3 separate regions of the Homo sapiens genome follow, and all the other regions are linked to region 1. Evidence: promoter capture Hi-C in human tissues and cell types (Jung and others, 2019). All regions are on one chromosome and are shown on one strand. Each heading gives the region's core, a stretch centred on a gene start or on the middle of the fragment in contact. The rest is flanking DNA. Distances are from core to core; before and after follow the strand shown. Region 1 holds the start of AGBL5 (AGBL carboxypeptidase 5). Region 2 holds the start of UCN (urocortin). Region 3 holds the start of KRTCAP3 (keratinocyte associated protein 3).

Evidence for each region. Contacts are between HindIII fragments. The study calls those that stand out against the background at their distance.
Region 2: the fragment with the promoter of UCN here is called in contact with the fragment with the promoter of AGBL5 in region 1 in 1 of the 25 tissues and cell types used here (spleen).
Region 3: the fragment with the promoter of KRTCAP3 here is called in contact with the fragment with the promoter of AGBL5 in region 1 in 2 of the 25 tissues and cell types used here (hippocampus and ovary).

The regions. Positions count from the first base shown.
Region 1 is chr2:27,048,775-27,053,451 of GRCh38, forward strand. AGBL5 (AGBL carboxypeptidase 5) reads left to right here and starts at 2,894. Exons shown (of 15, transcript NM_021831.6): 1 at 2,894-3,019; 2 at 4,139-4,399; 3 at 4,628-4,677. The coding sequence starts at 4,185. It overlaps TRY-GTA2-1 (tRNA-Tyr (anticodon GTA) 2-1), which reads left to right and starts at 2,008; the gene lies at 2,008-2,096. It overlaps TRA-AGC8-1 (tRNA-Ala (anticodon AGC) 8-1), which reads left to right and starts at 2,440; the gene lies at 2,440-2,512. It overlaps AGBL5-AS1 (AGBL5 antisense RNA 1), which reads right to left and starts at 1,490. Exons shown (of 2, transcript NR_046730.1): 1 at 1,406-1,490; 2 at 909-1,230. RefSeq lists silencers at 1,275-1,484, 2,187-2,481, 2,885-3,324, 3,345-3,394 and enhancers at 1,645-1,934, 2,105-2,334, 2,649-3,148. The HindIII fragment of the contact is 18,076 bases long and covers 1-4,677 here.
Region 2 is chr2:27,304,749-27,309,694 of GRCh38, forward strand. It overlaps UCN (urocortin), which reads right to left and starts at 3,697. Exons shown (of 2, transcript NM_003353.4): 1 at 3,412-3,697; 2 at 2,652-3,160. The coding sequence starts at 3,147. The coding sequence ends at 2,773. It overlaps TRIM54 (tripartite motif containing 54), which reads left to right. Exons shown (of 9, transcript NM_187841.3): 4 at 211-306; 5 at 836-1,069; 6 at 1,332-1,354; 7 at 1,465-1,589; 8 at 1,708-1,794; 9 at 2,139-2,687. The coding sequence ends at 1,793. It overlaps MPV17 (mitochondrial inner membrane protein MPV17), which reads right to left. Exons shown (of 8, transcript NM_002437.5): 8 at 4,744-4,946. The HindIII fragment of the contact is 27,300 bases long and covers 1-4,946 here.
Region 3 is chr2:27,440,315-27,445,133 of GRCh38, forward strand. It overlaps KRTCAP3 (keratinocyte associated protein 3), which reads left to right and starts at 2,067. Exons shown (of 7, transcript NM_173853.4): 1 at 2,067-2,126; 2 at 2,265-2,449; 3 at 2,528-2,587; 4 at 2,760-2,966; 5 at 3,084-3,218; 6 at 3,635-3,747; 7 at 3,872-3,983. The coding sequence starts at 2,099. The coding sequence ends at 3,742. It overlaps NRBP1 (nuclear receptor binding protein 1), which reads left to right. Exons shown (of 18, transcript NM_013392.4): 12 at 89-194; 13 at 338-388; 14 at 491-626; 15 at 813-866; 16 at 953-1,016; 17 at 1,253-1,308; 18 at 1,394-1,945. The coding sequence ends at 1,498. IFT172 (intraflagellar transport 172) reads right to left here. Exons shown (of 48, transcript NM_015662.3): 47 at 4,700-4,791; 48 at 4,063-4,207. The coding sequence ends at 4,118. RefSeq lists an enhancer at 2,202-2,744. The HindIII fragment of the contact is 11,668 bases long and covers 1-4,819 here.

The DNA.
Region 1 (4,677 bases), core at 1,644-4,143:
CATGCGCCACCACGTCCGGCTAATTTTTTATTTTTAGTAGAGAAGGGGTTTCCATGTTGTCCAGGCTGGTGTCGAACTCCTGAACTCAGGTGATTCACCCGCCTCGGCTTCCCGAAATGCTGGGATTACAGGCGTGAGCCACCGCGTGTGGCCTTTTCTTTGAGACAGAGTCTCTCTCTGTCTCCCAGGCTGTTGTGCAGTGGCGCACTCTAGGCTCACTGCAATCCGCCTCCCAAGTTCAAGCGATTCTCCTGCCTCAGGCTCCCGAGTTGCTGGGGATTACCGGAGTGGTAGGAGCTCACTACCACTCCCGGCTGCTTTTTTTTTTTTTTTTTTTTTTGAGACGGAGTTTCGCTCTTGTTGCCTAGGCTGGAGTGGCGCGATCTCGGTTTACTGCAACCTCCGCCTCTCGAGTTCAAGCGATTCTCCCACCTCAGCCTCCGGAGTAGCTGGGATTACAGGCGCGCGCCACCATCCTCTGCTAATTATTTTTGTATGTTAGTAGAGACAGGTTTCACCATGTTGGCCAGGCTGGTCTGCAACTCTTGAACTCCGGGGATCCGCCCACCTCGGCCTTCCAAAGTGCTGGGATTACAGGTGTGAGCCACCACGCCTGGCCATGAATGTGATTTTTTGATATTGAATAATAAAAGCTATGCAGATCTTCTATATTCTTCTATCTAAATGTTGACACAACTTTATATCTAGAAACTTCGGATTTAAAGCTCAGCCCGAGAGAACCCATCAAATGTTGGAGCTGCAAGGGGCTAGAAAGCATCACCAGACCTGGATTCGCGGGCGATGTTGGCTCAAGGTAGCACAGGACGTTGGCCCAGAGCTGGAAATTGAGGCCAGGTCTTCCGGCACACCCACCCCACAGGACGACCAAGCAGGGCTTCACAGAGGAGTTGGGGGTTAGGTTTATTTCTGTTGTTAAAAACCCGGTGAACAAAAGGTTGTGGAAAAAACACATGCAAAAGACAGGCGAAGGTGTGAGCTGGATAGGGACAAAGATGGGGGAACCCGTGGGGTCACTCCTTGACCCCACCCGGGACACCTAGACATCCACAGTGTCGGGGGAGGGGCCCCAGACCAGGCAGAAGACCCTTCCCCGGCCCTGGGGAACCCAAGATTTCCGAGAGTAAGCGGACCTGTGCAAAGACCCACAAGGGAGGCCAGTGGCCTGTGCTGGGCACTGTACAGCCGCCCCGACCCCGACCTCACGTGGGCCTCGGAGGCTGCAGGGACCTACCCGGCCGCGCGCCGCCCACCATCCCAGGTCTACCGCAGGGGAATCCCCCAGGCTTGCGAGCGCTTCCGAGGGCAGGAAAGCCTGTACTGCAGCCCCGCCGCCCTCTCCTGGCGCGTAGCCCTCTCCCCGAGCCCTCGGGCCACGCCGCCAGGCCCGCGATCCCAGGGCGGCCCGGGGGGTTCGGCACAGCCCGATAATGCGCCGCGCCGAAGCCTGCAGCACCCCGCGGTCGCCGTCTCTCTTGCACTGGTCAGGACGAATAGAGCCTGACAAAACCTGAGTTAATTGGCCGAGCGAATGTCGTTCGCGTCAGGAGAGCACGTCCGGAGAAGCCAAGGGAAATGTGGAGCAGGAGCAGCCAAAGTGGCCCATCGGCTCTCGAGCAGGGTTTGCGCGTCGCGGTCGCAAAGCCCCTGTGAGTGCAGGTACCGCGGCACAAGCGCTGCCCCGGAGCTCCAGGAGGCGGCGGCGGGCTCGGCGTTCGCGGTCCAGGAGAAACCACCGCGGGGTGTTGGGAACATTTTGTTAAAAAGCCGGGAAGCTCAGGGCCGGTGTGGCCTCCGTTCTGGCCTGAGAACCCGGACTTTGGGCAGCTTCTTTTCCTTGCCTTTGGGTCTCCGGCTTTCTCAGCTCTGTGAGGTCCCATGGGTCTCCTGCCCTGGCAGGTTCCTTCAGCTGGAGAAAGCGGGGGTCATGGCTGGATGAGGTTGCGGTAAGCATTAGAGGGCTATCAGCAGCATCTTATCGCAGCGGAGCCTTCGATAGCTCAGTTGGTAGAGCGGAGGACTGTAGTGGATAGGGCGTGGCAATCCTTAGGTCGCTGGTTCGATTCCGGCTCGAAGGACTTCGTCTGTAATTTTTAACCTCAATTTAATTCAATTATCCCATAAGGGGAAAGGCTTGGAGGCCTCCTGTGACTTAGCATTCGTACTGCCGTCAGTCCATAGGGAACACCGTAGTATGTAGTATACGGTAACGCTCTTTCTGCGTTCAATGTACATGTGGTAACGTGTTTTAGAATGTTTTCTGCTTAAGCACACGATTATATGCTTGATTTTTAGAATCTTGCACATGGATGCCACTGTATTGTACTCTGCTAAATAAATGTCCTGAACTGTGGTTGATCCACTGGTCAGTGAACAGTGCAGTGAACCTGTAAGGCAAAGGGAAAGAACTAAGCAGCAGGCGGGGGATTAGCTCAAATGGTAGAGCGCTCGCTTAGCATGCGAGAGGTAGCGGGATCGATGCCCGCATCCTCCACTCAGCTTTTGCGTCCGTCACACTACAGAACACAAAACGGGAGGGATTCCCGGCGCAGTGGGCTACGTGTTTCATTTTAGAGACACAAGACTGTTAAGCGATAAGGAGTTTCACACGATGTCTTTTTATTTCGCAGTTGAGTCCCAGTTTCTGCCGCTTTATCTTTCCCGCCTCCCGGCAGGCAGGCCGTTAACCGTCTTCCGGAAGACGCTGCTAGAACCCTCCGGCCGCTCCTGCCCGCCATCGTCCCCGAACGACACTCGCTCAGGTACCCACTAACGTGCGAGGAACCCTGAGAGCTGACCAATGGTAGCGAGCTTTACTGGGCGGGTCGCCAGCTGCAGCCACGGCCAATAGGCGAGAGACTTCTTGTTTCCTGGCAGAGCGGGGTCCCGGCACCGCGGCGCTCGGGTGTTTTTGGGGGCCCGGGTGGAGGGCCCGGGTGCCGGGGCCCAAGGTGCGGCCTCGCTAGCGGGAGAGGGAGCGGGATCACCGGCCCGGAGAGAGGTGAGGGGCTCTGCGCGGACTACGGGCCCCGCCAGCCCCGGCCCCGCCAGCCCCGGCCCCGCCCCCTTCTCTCAGCCCCTTGAGCCCGAGCCCCTCGAAGGCCACCCCGCACCCCGCTCCCGACCTGGCTTACGCGGTCCCGACCCCGCCCAGCTCCGTGGCCTCACCTCTGACTCCTAGGCCCTCCCTGCCTAATCCCCTGCCGCGGGAGCCCGTCTCGACCCCTTCCATGCCTCCCAGTCCCACCCTGCCCAGGGCAAGCCCGCTCGGTGTGACGGTTCCCCGCGAGTCGAGGGTGGAGAAGCCAGCCTCCTTCCCCCGAGTGGGACTCTAGCAGCCCACCTCTTTTAGGGGTGCTGAGAACACCCATTACTCATCCACAGCTACTAGGGTAGCTTTCTCAGGGTGCAGTGCTTACGGGGCGGAGGGGGATGGAAACAGACCCATGCCCTGGCTGGAAGGGAGCTCCAGTCGCTAGGTGAGCCCAGTAGCCTTTGGCTTGGCAGAGGCACCACTGTTATAGTTTTTCTCCATACTAGGCATAAGGTAGGAACAAAAAAGGAAGAACCAGCCCTTCCAGGGCTCAGGGGAGCAACACCAGAATGTCCGCTCAGTACTTGTGAGGACAGAGGCTGGAGAGAGGACTACCCATTTACACTCAGAACCTCGATTCCTCTCTCTGCTCTGTGCTGGAGAGTGCAGAGCCAGAGATCCAGAACGGCCCATCTCTAAAGGTGGCCATGTATGGTGGTGAGTGTATCTTGGCTAGGTTTGGAAAATCTGACCTCTCTGATTATATTCTCTAATCTTTGGGCTGCAAAGCAGCTGAGAGTTTAGTGTTTTTCAACATAGTTAAGCCACTGAGTTTTATTTGGGAACAGCCAAGCTAAAGTAAAATGGGGTCCCTTTAGGTCATTTACAACCCTTAGTGTTGGGGTACAGAATGCTGCTTTCTCTTGGCCTTTGCTGGAAGACCACTTCTATGTTTTCTAAGAGGGAGACAGCCTTTTGTTTCATAGGGCACTCCCTAAGAATAGCTCTTATTTATCAAGAGATACCCAGAAAACTCTTCGATTTGTCTTCCCTTTCCTCCTTAACCTAACCCTTGTTTTCCCCCAGCTCTCAGGGCCAGAGCGGGGCAGGAGGATGCTTTCCCAGCCCCACCATGGAGCTGCGCTGTGGGGGATTGCTGTTCAGTTCTCGCTTTGATTCAGGGAATCTAGCCCACGTGGAGAAGGTGGAATCTTTGTCCAGTGATGGGGAAGGGGTAGGAGGTGGGGCGTCAGCCCTGACCAGTGGCATTGCCTCTTCCCCTGACTATGAATTCAACGTGTGGACCCGACCAGACTGTGCTGAAACGGAATTTGAGAATGGGAACAGGTATATGGAACGAAATGGAGGGTGGAAAAAGGCTCCAAACCCATGCTTCAGTTAGCCCTCTGACTTATCTGTTCATACCCAGCATACTCCCTGTCCATTTCTGACCCATCGTCCCTCCTTTCTCCTTGCCAAATAGCCCTTTCCCAGTTTGGCTGGCTCCGGCTCTCCCACAGACCATATCTCCAACCCTTCCACACGTAATGACCTCTCTCTTACTCTGGTCCTCAGGTCATGGTTCTACTTCAGCGTCCGGGGAGGAATGCCAGGAAAACTCATCA
Region 2 (4,946 bases), core at 2,447-4,946, 260 kb after region 1:
AGTGGTGGAGGGCTTCTCTCCACCTCCTTCCAGAATCACTAGAATGTGCTTCCGTACCTCTTGATGGTTCAAGCCTTCTAGATTGCTGTAGATGCCCTTATGGGGGGTGAGGTGGAAGGGCCAGCCCTCTCCTAGGCAACCCTGGCTGGGGTGAGGGGTGTAGCTCTAGGCCAGGTCCCAGCTCTGAGTGCTGACCTGTGTGTGTATCAGAGTGAGCTCAGCGATGGCATCGCGATGCTGGTGGCAGGCAATGACCGCGTGCAAGCAGTGATCACACAGATGGAGGAGGTGTGCCAGACTATCGAGGTGAGCCTGGGCTGGAGGGAGGGAGGAACAGCAACTGGCTAGCCTGCGGACCCCGGGCTCCCAAGAGAACTGCTCCTCTCTGACCTCTCGCCAAACTGGTCTGAAAGTTTCTGGGGTCCTGGGAGTGGTGGGAGGTGCTTTTGCCAGGCTGCTGGGTGTGCATTCCAGCTTTGCCGCAAAACTTTAATCCAGTTATTTAACTTCTCTGTGCTTTGGTTTTGTTTAACCTCATAAAACAGTGATGATGATAATGATACACCAGCTACCTCATGGGTTCTTTTTGAGAATTAAATGGAATAATGCAAATAAAAACCAGGGCTAGGGATATAGACAGCAATCAGTGAAGCTACTTTAAAGCATTGTGTTTTTATTATGGAAAAGATCTGGGCTGGGTTCTGGCTCAGCCACTAACTCACAGTGTCACTACGGATGGGTCACTTTCTGTGTTGGTTCTCTGTGAGTACCCTGTGCTTTCCCAGCCACCGGGTCTCAGCCACGCCTTCCCTCATCCTTGCTCCCCATCTTTTAGGACAATAGCCGGAGGCAGAAGCAGTTGTTAAACCAGAGGTTTGAGAGCCTGTGCGCAGTGCTGGAGGAGCGCAAGGGTGAGCTGCTGCAGGCGCTGGCCCGGGAGCAAGAGGAGAAGCTGCAGCGCGTCCGCGGCCTCATCCGTCAGTATGGCGACCACCTGGAGGCCTCCTCTAAGCTGGTGGAGTCTGCCATCCAGTCCATGGAAGAGCCACAAATGGCGCTGTATCTCCAGGTGGGCTCTAGGGGAGGGTGGCAGCGCTGCACAGTGGCTGGAGTCAGGGCCTTGGTACCTGGAGTCCCGGGTTCAAGTCTTGTCTCTTGCACCTGCTTGCCCCTACGACCTTGGGCAAGTCACCCCCTCTGAGTTCGTTTTCTGCTTAACGAATTGGGACGTGCCTTCCCACCTACCCCGCAGGACTGTGGTGAGATTCAGAAATGGGACTTTGCCCAGGTTGGCCCAGTGCTTACTCTCACCCTCCTTTTCTTCCCTGCAGCAGGCCAAGGAGCTGATCAATAAGTGAGTAGGCATAGCGGGAAGGGAAAGGAGGGGGCTGCACTGCTCCACTGGCTGGGGTGGGGCTTGAGAGTGCTGGGGCATTGCCAGCTGAGTCCGTGTGGCCACTGCAGGGTCGGGGCCATGTCGAAGGTGGAGCTGGCAGGGCGGCCGGAGCCAGGCTATGAGAGCATGGAGCAATTCACCGTAAGGGTGGAGCACGTGGCCGAAATGCTGCGGACCATCGACTTCCAGCCAGGTGAAGGAGGTGGCCGAGGGCCGCTGAGACGGGTTCGGACCCTCTGTGTGGGGGGTGCGGCGGGCACGATGGCCGTAAAGGCAGGGACTCCACCTCACCAGGCCTTCCTTGGGCTCAGGCGCTTCCGGGGAGGAAGAGGAGGTGGCCCCAGACGGAGAGGAGGGCAGCGCGGGGCCGGAGGAAGAGCGGCCGGATGGGCCTTAAGGTGAGAGCCGCCCGATGGGCCTTAAGGTGAGAGCGGCCTGAGGGGCTTGGGGTGGGGCCTGGCTGGTGTGCTCGCGTCCCCTCCCCCAGTGATTGCCCTCCCTGCGGGTAGCGTGGAGCCCCCACTCCTCGGTGCAACCCAACCCCGGAGCCACAAAGGCGCGCCCCCTAGGGCGGAAAAGTACACTTTCCTCCTCACCCGCTGTTCCTCTGGGGTGCTGGGAGGGCAGGCAAGGCAGGCTGAGTAGAGGAGAAACCCACGTGGCGGGGGACGGAGTGAGCGGGGCTCGAGCTGCCTCGTGCCTTCGCAGCACCCGCCCACCGAGCCTTCTTTCCCGGGCACAGGCCTGCGCCGACCCGACCCTGCTCGAGAGCCCGCGCTAGAGTCGGGGAGGATCTGCGCAGAGACCGCAGCATCACCCAAATCGGCGCCGGCCCCGGGAGGATCTCAATAAAGAACTCGAGCGTCCCAGACCCGTATCTCCTTTCGCTGCCCAACCCCGCAGCCTGGGCTTCGAAGGCGACCCGCCCACCATCCTGCCCTTCCCAGAACCTGAGACCGTCTGGGGGGCGGAAGCCAAATGAACCCCTATTGGGCACCTCTGTGATGCCAGGAGCGAACTGGTGAGCCCAGCGCCCTGGGAAGAGGGCCGAGGGCGGGGCGGTGGTGCCGGGACCTCTGAGGTCCTGGGGATTTGGGGACCCTTGGGGTCCACATGCACCTGGCTGACCTGGCTGAAAGCCGCTGTCTCGGAGCCCCCCACAGCATTTTGTTCCCCTCCCGCTGGCCCGGGGGCCCCACCTTCCCACGGGTTCCCACGCTGCTGTGACTGCCCTGCCTCTACGACAAAAGCCAACGGGTCTTCAGTACTTTTATTAAAAAATAGTCACGCAGACAGTGCCCTGGTGGCTCTGCCCCGCATCCCAACTCTGGGGTGGGGGAAAGGGGTCAACGTTTTCGCAGCCCCAAACCGGGCCATCACTTGCCCACCGAGTCGAATATGATGCGGTTCTGCTCGGCGCGCTCCCGCTGGCTCTGCGTCCGCGCCAGCTCCAGCAGGGTCCGCAGCAGGTGAAAGGTGAGGTCAATGGACAGAGAAGGGTTGTCCCGCCGCGGCCGCTCGCCTGCCGTCCCGAGTCCCAATCGGCCGGGCCCCGCGCGGCGCGGGAAGCGCTCCGCCAGCAGCAAGAGGAGCGCGCGGGCCCCGCCACCCTGGTTCCGTGCCCCGGGGCTCCAGCGCAGACTCGGGTCCTGGACCCCGGCCGCCTCGGGGCTCCTCTGGCTGCTCCCAGGGCACAGCTGTACCAGGAGCAGCAGCGCGGCCAGCAGCGCTGCGCGTCCCGCCTGCCTCATGGTGCCGCCGGCCCTGGACACACAGGGGCAGCGCAGGGTGAGGTGCGCCTGGGACAGCTGCAGGCCGCCGCTCCCCTCCCCGCGCTCGCCCGGCGACCCCTCCGGCCGCCGCCCAATGCCCGCAGCCTGCCCTCCAGCCCCAGCCACTGCGCCAGTGCTGTTCCATCCCTTCCACCCAGCCTCCCTCCCCGGAGGAGCGTGGTGGCTGAGCTGAGCGGAGTCCTGGTGCAGGGGGAGGCTGGGCGGACGCTCTGAGCCACTCACAGGTTGTCGGCGAGCGTCTGTACGGTCCAAGATTGAGCTCCAGTCTCTGTCCCTCGGGGCAGGCTGAAGACGCCTTGGGGAACACAGGGTCTGTCCCGGGGCTGTCGCCAGCCTTATATAGTGCCAGGACAGCTCCGACTGACGTCAGCGAAGAACATGCACTGATTGTAGAAGCAATGACAGCCACAGCTTCGAGTCTGACGGCTGGCGGGCCCCCGGAGGGGCGCACCTCCCTACACCAGCCTTCGTGCCCCTGGGGCTAGCGCTGGAAGCAGCACTGGACGCAGGAAAGCGAGAAGCCGGCTGGGGCGTAAAGACTGCTCTGGGACCCACGGGAGTCCCTCGCCCCGCTTAGAACAGCCAGCAATGACTAGGGCCGTCCCCAGACCAGACTAGTCCGGGTCGCGTGTTCTGACACACGAAAGGGAGGCGGGACCGTGAGGCTGTCCATGGTGCTGACCCCGTCCTCTGCCTCTAGAAGTGGCCAGAAATGTGAGAACGCTGTGCCGCTGGAACCCACTGCCTCCCTGCAGCTATCAGTTCTGCAAATGCAGGCATCAGGAGTCCACCGCTGGCACTCAGCCAACACAGTGGGACCCACTGAGAGGCAGTCTGCCACAACCAAAGTCTCCCAGCATTCTTATCTTTTTCCAGCCCCAGGATCCAAATTGTAGGGCTGTCTGACAGGCACCATGTAACAGAGGGTCTCTAGCATCCGAGTGCTTTCAGACCACAAATGGCTGGCCCATCTGCTTTTGAGTTTGCCAAAGTAGTTTAGCAAAGTTCAGTTTCTCTCCTGGGAATCATAGCAGCAGTGTAACTCTGCCCATGAGCAGCAAAGAAATATGGGTTCAAGTTTCTGCTAACTCCTGGTGTGGACAGGTCACCTCCCTCCTACCAACCTCAGGGTCCTCATTTGTAAGACTGGGCTTGGCCAGGCGCGGTGGCTCACGCCTGTAATCCCAACACTTTGGGAGGCCGAGGCAGGCGGATCACGAGGTCAGTAGTTTGAAACCAGCCTGGCCAATATGGCGAAACCCCATCTCTACTAAAAATACAAAAATTAGCCGGGCGTGGCGGTATGCGCCTGTGGTCCCAGCTACTCAGGAGGCTGAGGCAGGAGAACTGCTTGAACCCAGGAGGCGGAAGCTGCAGTGAGGCAAGATCGCGCCACTGCACTCCAGCCTGGGAGACAGAGCAAGACCCTGTCTCAAAAAAAAAAAAAAAAAAAAAAAAAAAAATTGGGCTTGGTGGTCTCTTGGCTTCTTTCCAGCTCTAGAAATGACTCCCCAATAGTTTTCTGCTTAAAAACTTACTCATTACCACTGCAGATTCCGGATTACATATTTAATAACATATTTACTGAGGCACCATATAAAGGGTTCCGGGAGTCTCTAAAGAGCTGGAGCTACAAGAAGCCTAGGCAGGGTTAGAGTAACAAATGTGTCTATGAAGAGTGGGGATGAGTGGCATTTGCTGGGATATGGGTGTAAAGTTGATAAGGTCATGAAGGTTCAACAGATATTTATGGAGTG
Region 3 (4,819 bases), core at 817-3,316, 390 kb after region 1:
GGGATTCTTTACCCCTTTGCCTGCATGCCTTCTTTGACATTTAATCTGACTATCCCTTCATAATATCCCACTCCATCATGCCCTCCAGACATGATCCCAGAGAACGCTCTAGAGGAGATCACCAAAAACATGGATACTAGTGCCGTACTGGCTGAAATCCCTGCAGGACCAGGAAGAGAACCAGTTCAGACTTTGTGAGTAACTGAGAGGGTCTGAAAGGGGCAGATTGGTCACGACCACTCTTGAGGCTCTGTAAACTGTCCATTCTCTGGGAATGCTTGAATTTGCTATTTTGCTTGTTTCTTTCCTTCCATCTCCTTTCTCTTTTCTCGTCCAGGTACTCTCAGTCACCAGCTCTGGAATTAGATAAATTCCTTGAAGATGTCAGGTGAGAGCAGAGTGAGAAGCAGGCTTTCTTGAGGAAGCAGGCGGGGTTGGGTATCCTAAGGCGTTCACAGAGCCCATGTGACCTGTCTTCATCTCCCTCCAGGAATGGGATCTATCCTCTGACAGCCTTTGGGCTGCCTCGGCCCCAGCAGCCACAGCAGGAGGAGGTGACATCACCTGTCGTGCCCCCCTCTGTCAAGACTCCGACACCTGAACCAGCTGAGGTGGAGACTCGCAAGGTGGGGGCTGTGTGGGTGTGGATTGTCTCCATGGTTGTGGTGGAAGGGAGAGAGGACATCTCAAATAAGGCTCTATCCTTTAGAGAAAATGCTCCCTAGCAGCCATGCCCTATGGGCTCGAAAGACGTCTAGGTATTGGGTTTTTTATGGACAGGTCTCTAGAGTGACCCTCTCTTCCCTCCCTAGGTGGTGCTGATGCAGTGCAACATTGAGTCGGTGGAGGAGGGAGTCAAACACCACGTAAGGCTCAGGGCTAGGGTTGCGCAGGGCTAGTAGCCAGAGGGTAGGGAAGAAAAGTCTCATTTTCTGACTGTCCTATTCTCCAGCTGACACTTCTGCTGAAGTTGGAGGACAAACTGAACCGGCACCTGAGCTGTGACCTGATGCCAAGTGAGTCTCTCCTTTCCCTCAGAGGATGGAGAGTCTATGAGCCTTATCTTTTAGGGACATATTCAGGGGTGGGGGAGGTGACAAGGCAGTAACACATTGACTCACATAGAATGACTATCTTAGACCCTAAAGCAGTGGGTGGATCTGACTGACAGTTTAGCCCTAGTGGGGCTGTCTGAAGGGCCCCAGGTCCCTCAGTCCCGTACTGTACTCACCCCCTCCTGTTTCTTTGTCAGATGAGAATATCCCCGAGTTGGCGGCTGAGCTGGTGCAGCTGGGCTTCATTAGTGAGGTGAGGTTTCTGCCTTCATCTGCCCTGGCTGCCCCCATGCCTTCTCTTCTCTCAGCCCCCATCTTACTGAGCTCTTCTCCCCCAGGCTGACCAGAGCCGGTTGACTTCTCTGCTAGAAGAGACCTTGAACAAGTTCAATTTTGCCAGGAACAGTACCCTCAACTCAGCCGCTGTCACCGTCTCCTCTTAGAGCTCACTCGGGCCAGGCCCTGATCTGCGCTGTGGCTGTCCCTGGACGTGCTGCAGCCCTCCTGTCCCTTCCCCCCAGTCAGTATTACCCTGTGAAGCCCCTTCCCTCCTTTATTATTCAGGAGGGCTGGGGGGGCTCCCTGGTTCTGAGCATCATCCTTTCCCCTCCCCTCTCTTCCTCCCCTCTGCACTTTGTTTACTTGTTTTGCACAGACGTGGGCCTGGGCCTTCTCAGCAGCCGCCTTCTAGTTGGGGGCTAGTCGCTGATCTGCCGGCTCCCGCCCAGCCTGTGTGGAAAGGAGGCCCACGGGCACTAGGGGAGCCGAATTCTACAATCCCGCTGGGGCGGCCGGGGCGGGAGAGAAAGGTGGTGCTGCAGTGGTGGCCCTGGGGGGCCATTCGATTCGCCTCAGTTGCTGCTGTAATAAAAGTCTACTTTTTGCTAAAAGCGTCGTGTGTTCGCGCCTTTCCCGCCAGGGGGAGCGGGCCCGGGGCGGAGGCGGGGCCCAGGTGGGAGGGGGACCCGGGACGGAGGCGGGGCCCAGGTTGGGGCGGGGCCGGGCCCAGGTACAGCGGCCCTGCGGCTGGCGCGGCGGACGGGATGAGGCGCTGCAGTCTCTGCGCTTTCGGTAACTTCCGGGCCCTGGCGTCTCGTCTCCTTACCCTGGGGCTACCCTTGCCCCGTCCTACTGCCCGCGGTTAACCCGCCGCGAGCCGCCTCTCCCCTCCCCGCCCGACTCAACCCTGCCCTCCCCCGTGCTTTGCAGACGCCGCCCGGGGGCCCAGGCGGCTGATGCGTGTGGGCCTCGCGCTGATCTTGGTGGGCCACGTGAACCTGCTGCTGGGGGCCGTGCTGCATGGCACCGTCCTGCGGCACGTGGCCAATCCCCGCGGCGCTGTCACGCCGGAGTACACCGTAGCCAATGTCATCTCTGTCGGCTCGGGGCTGCTGGTGAGCGCGGCAGGCGACCCGGGCGGGGGCCGGGCTCCCGGAGAGCCCAGCAGGCCAAAGGCTTTGTGTCTTCCACAGAGCGTTTCCGTGGGACTTGTGGCCCTCCTGGCGTCCAGGAACCTTCTTCGCCCTCCACTGGTGAGAGGGACTTCCCTGGAGCTTTTAACGAGTAGGCTTGAGTCAGGGAAATGGGGGCTGACTGAGCTTGGTCTTTCAATAGATTGGAGGAGCCTCAGAGAAACTGGGTGTCTAGTCACTGGGAGAGTTAGCCAGGCCCAGGCTGCTCACCCTGATCTCCTGTCCCTGCCAGCACTGGGTCCTGCTGGCACTAGCTCTGGTGAACCTGCTCTTGTCCGTTGCCTGCTCCCTGGGCCTCCTTCTTGCTGTGTCACTCACTGTGGCCAACGGTGGCCGCCGCCTTATTGCTGACTGCCACCCAGGACTGCTGGATCCTCTGGTACCACTGGATGAGGGGCCGGGACATACTGACTGCCCCTTTGACCCCACAAGAATCTATGTGAGCACATTCTCTTCCTTCTTGTGGTCTACAAAGCCTTGGTCCTGCCCTTTTAATTTCCCCTATTTGCTGCACTTGCCCTACTCCCTCCTACTCCCCATCCTTCTTGCTTTTCAGGATACAGCCTTGGCTCTCTGGATCCCTTCTTTGCTCATGTCTGCAGGGGAGGCTGCTCTATCTGGTTACTGCTGTGTGGCTGCACTCACTCTACGTGGAGTTGGGCCCTGCAGGAAGGACGGACTTCAGGGGCAGGTAAGGAAGGCAAACAGGAAGGGTTCATTCCACAGAGACTGGCTGTGTTGAAAAGATGCTGACCGGCCGGGTGCGGAGGCTCACACCTGTAATCCCAGCACTTTGGGAGGCTGAGGCAGGCGGATCACTTGAGGTCAGGAGTTTGAGACCAGCTTGGACAACATGGTGAAACCTCGTCTCTACTAAAAATACAAAAAATTAGGTGGGGTGGTGGGCGCCTGTAATCCCAGCTACTTGGAAGGCTGAGGCAGGAGAATCGCTTGAACCCGGAAGGCGGAGGTTGCAGTGAACCGAGATCACGCCACTGCACTCCAGCCTGGGCAACAGAGTGAGGCTCCGTCACAAAAAACAAAACAAAAAAAAGATGCTGACCTATCATTCAGGGCGAGGGTGTCTAACTCTATCTTCTTCTGCAGCTAGAGGAAATGACAGAGCTTGAATCTCCTAAATGTAAAAGGCAGGAAAATGAGCAGCTACTGGATCAAAATCAAGAAATCCGGGCATCACAGAGAAGTTGGGTTTAGGACAGGTAATGGGCCTTGAAGGTGGTGGCCCGGGTAAGAGCGGGGACAAGGAAGTGCTCTTAGAACTGGGTCTAGGTCTTGCCATGCTGCTTTCCCCTCTGACCTGGGTTGGTTCTCCCCTCTGTCCAGCAGGTGCTGTTCCGAGACTCAGTCCTAAAGGGTTTTTTTTCCCACTAAGCAAGGGGCCCTGACCTCGGGATGAGATAACAAATTGTAATAAAGTAACTTCTCTTTTCTTCTACTTGATTATGATTCCTTTTGGGGAAAAGGCACTGTGTGGTGTTGGGAATGACTTTGATCAAAGAATACAGTGGTCTCAATTATTTATAAAACTTTAATGAGGGAGAGGCCCTAACTCTTCCTCAGCTCTACCAACTACTGAAAGGAAAAGCTGGTGCTGGGGAGCCCTCCACACCACTGACTGATGAATTTCAGCACGTCCTGGCACACTGGGCTGTGGGAGGTCTGTGAGCAAATGGAAGAACATGAGAGGAACTTGTTAATGCTGGAAATACAAAATCAGCTCCATCGCAGGCTTCAGGGTCTGCATCTGCCTTCCTGTAATCCCACCCATCTTTCTAGTGTGTATGTGGGTTTTTTGTTTGTTTTGAGACAAAGTCTTGCTTTGTCGCCCAGGCTGGAGTGCAGTGGCACAATCTCAGCTCACTGCAACCTCTGCCTCTCGGGTTTAAGCGATTCTCCTGCCTCAGCCTCCTGAGTAGCTGGGATTACAGGTGCACGCCACCAGACCCGGCTAACTTTTGTATTTTTAGTAGAGACGAGGTTTTAACCATGTTGGCCAGGCTGGTCTCAAACTCCTGACCTCAGGTGATCCGCCCACCTTGGCCTCCCAAAGTGCTGGGATTAAAGGTATGAGCCACTGCACCCAGACTTGTTTTTTTTTCTTTTTTTAGTGCTGCCCTCTCTGCCTTCATTCTCCAAGTCCTCCTCTCTAACCTTGATGGCCATAAGGAATTTATTCCAGTTGTCCTTGTTAGCAGCCTTCCCTGGCCGCTTAAATTCAATTTTGTTCCTCAGAATGGGGTATCCTGTGGAGGAAGAAAAAATGATGAACTG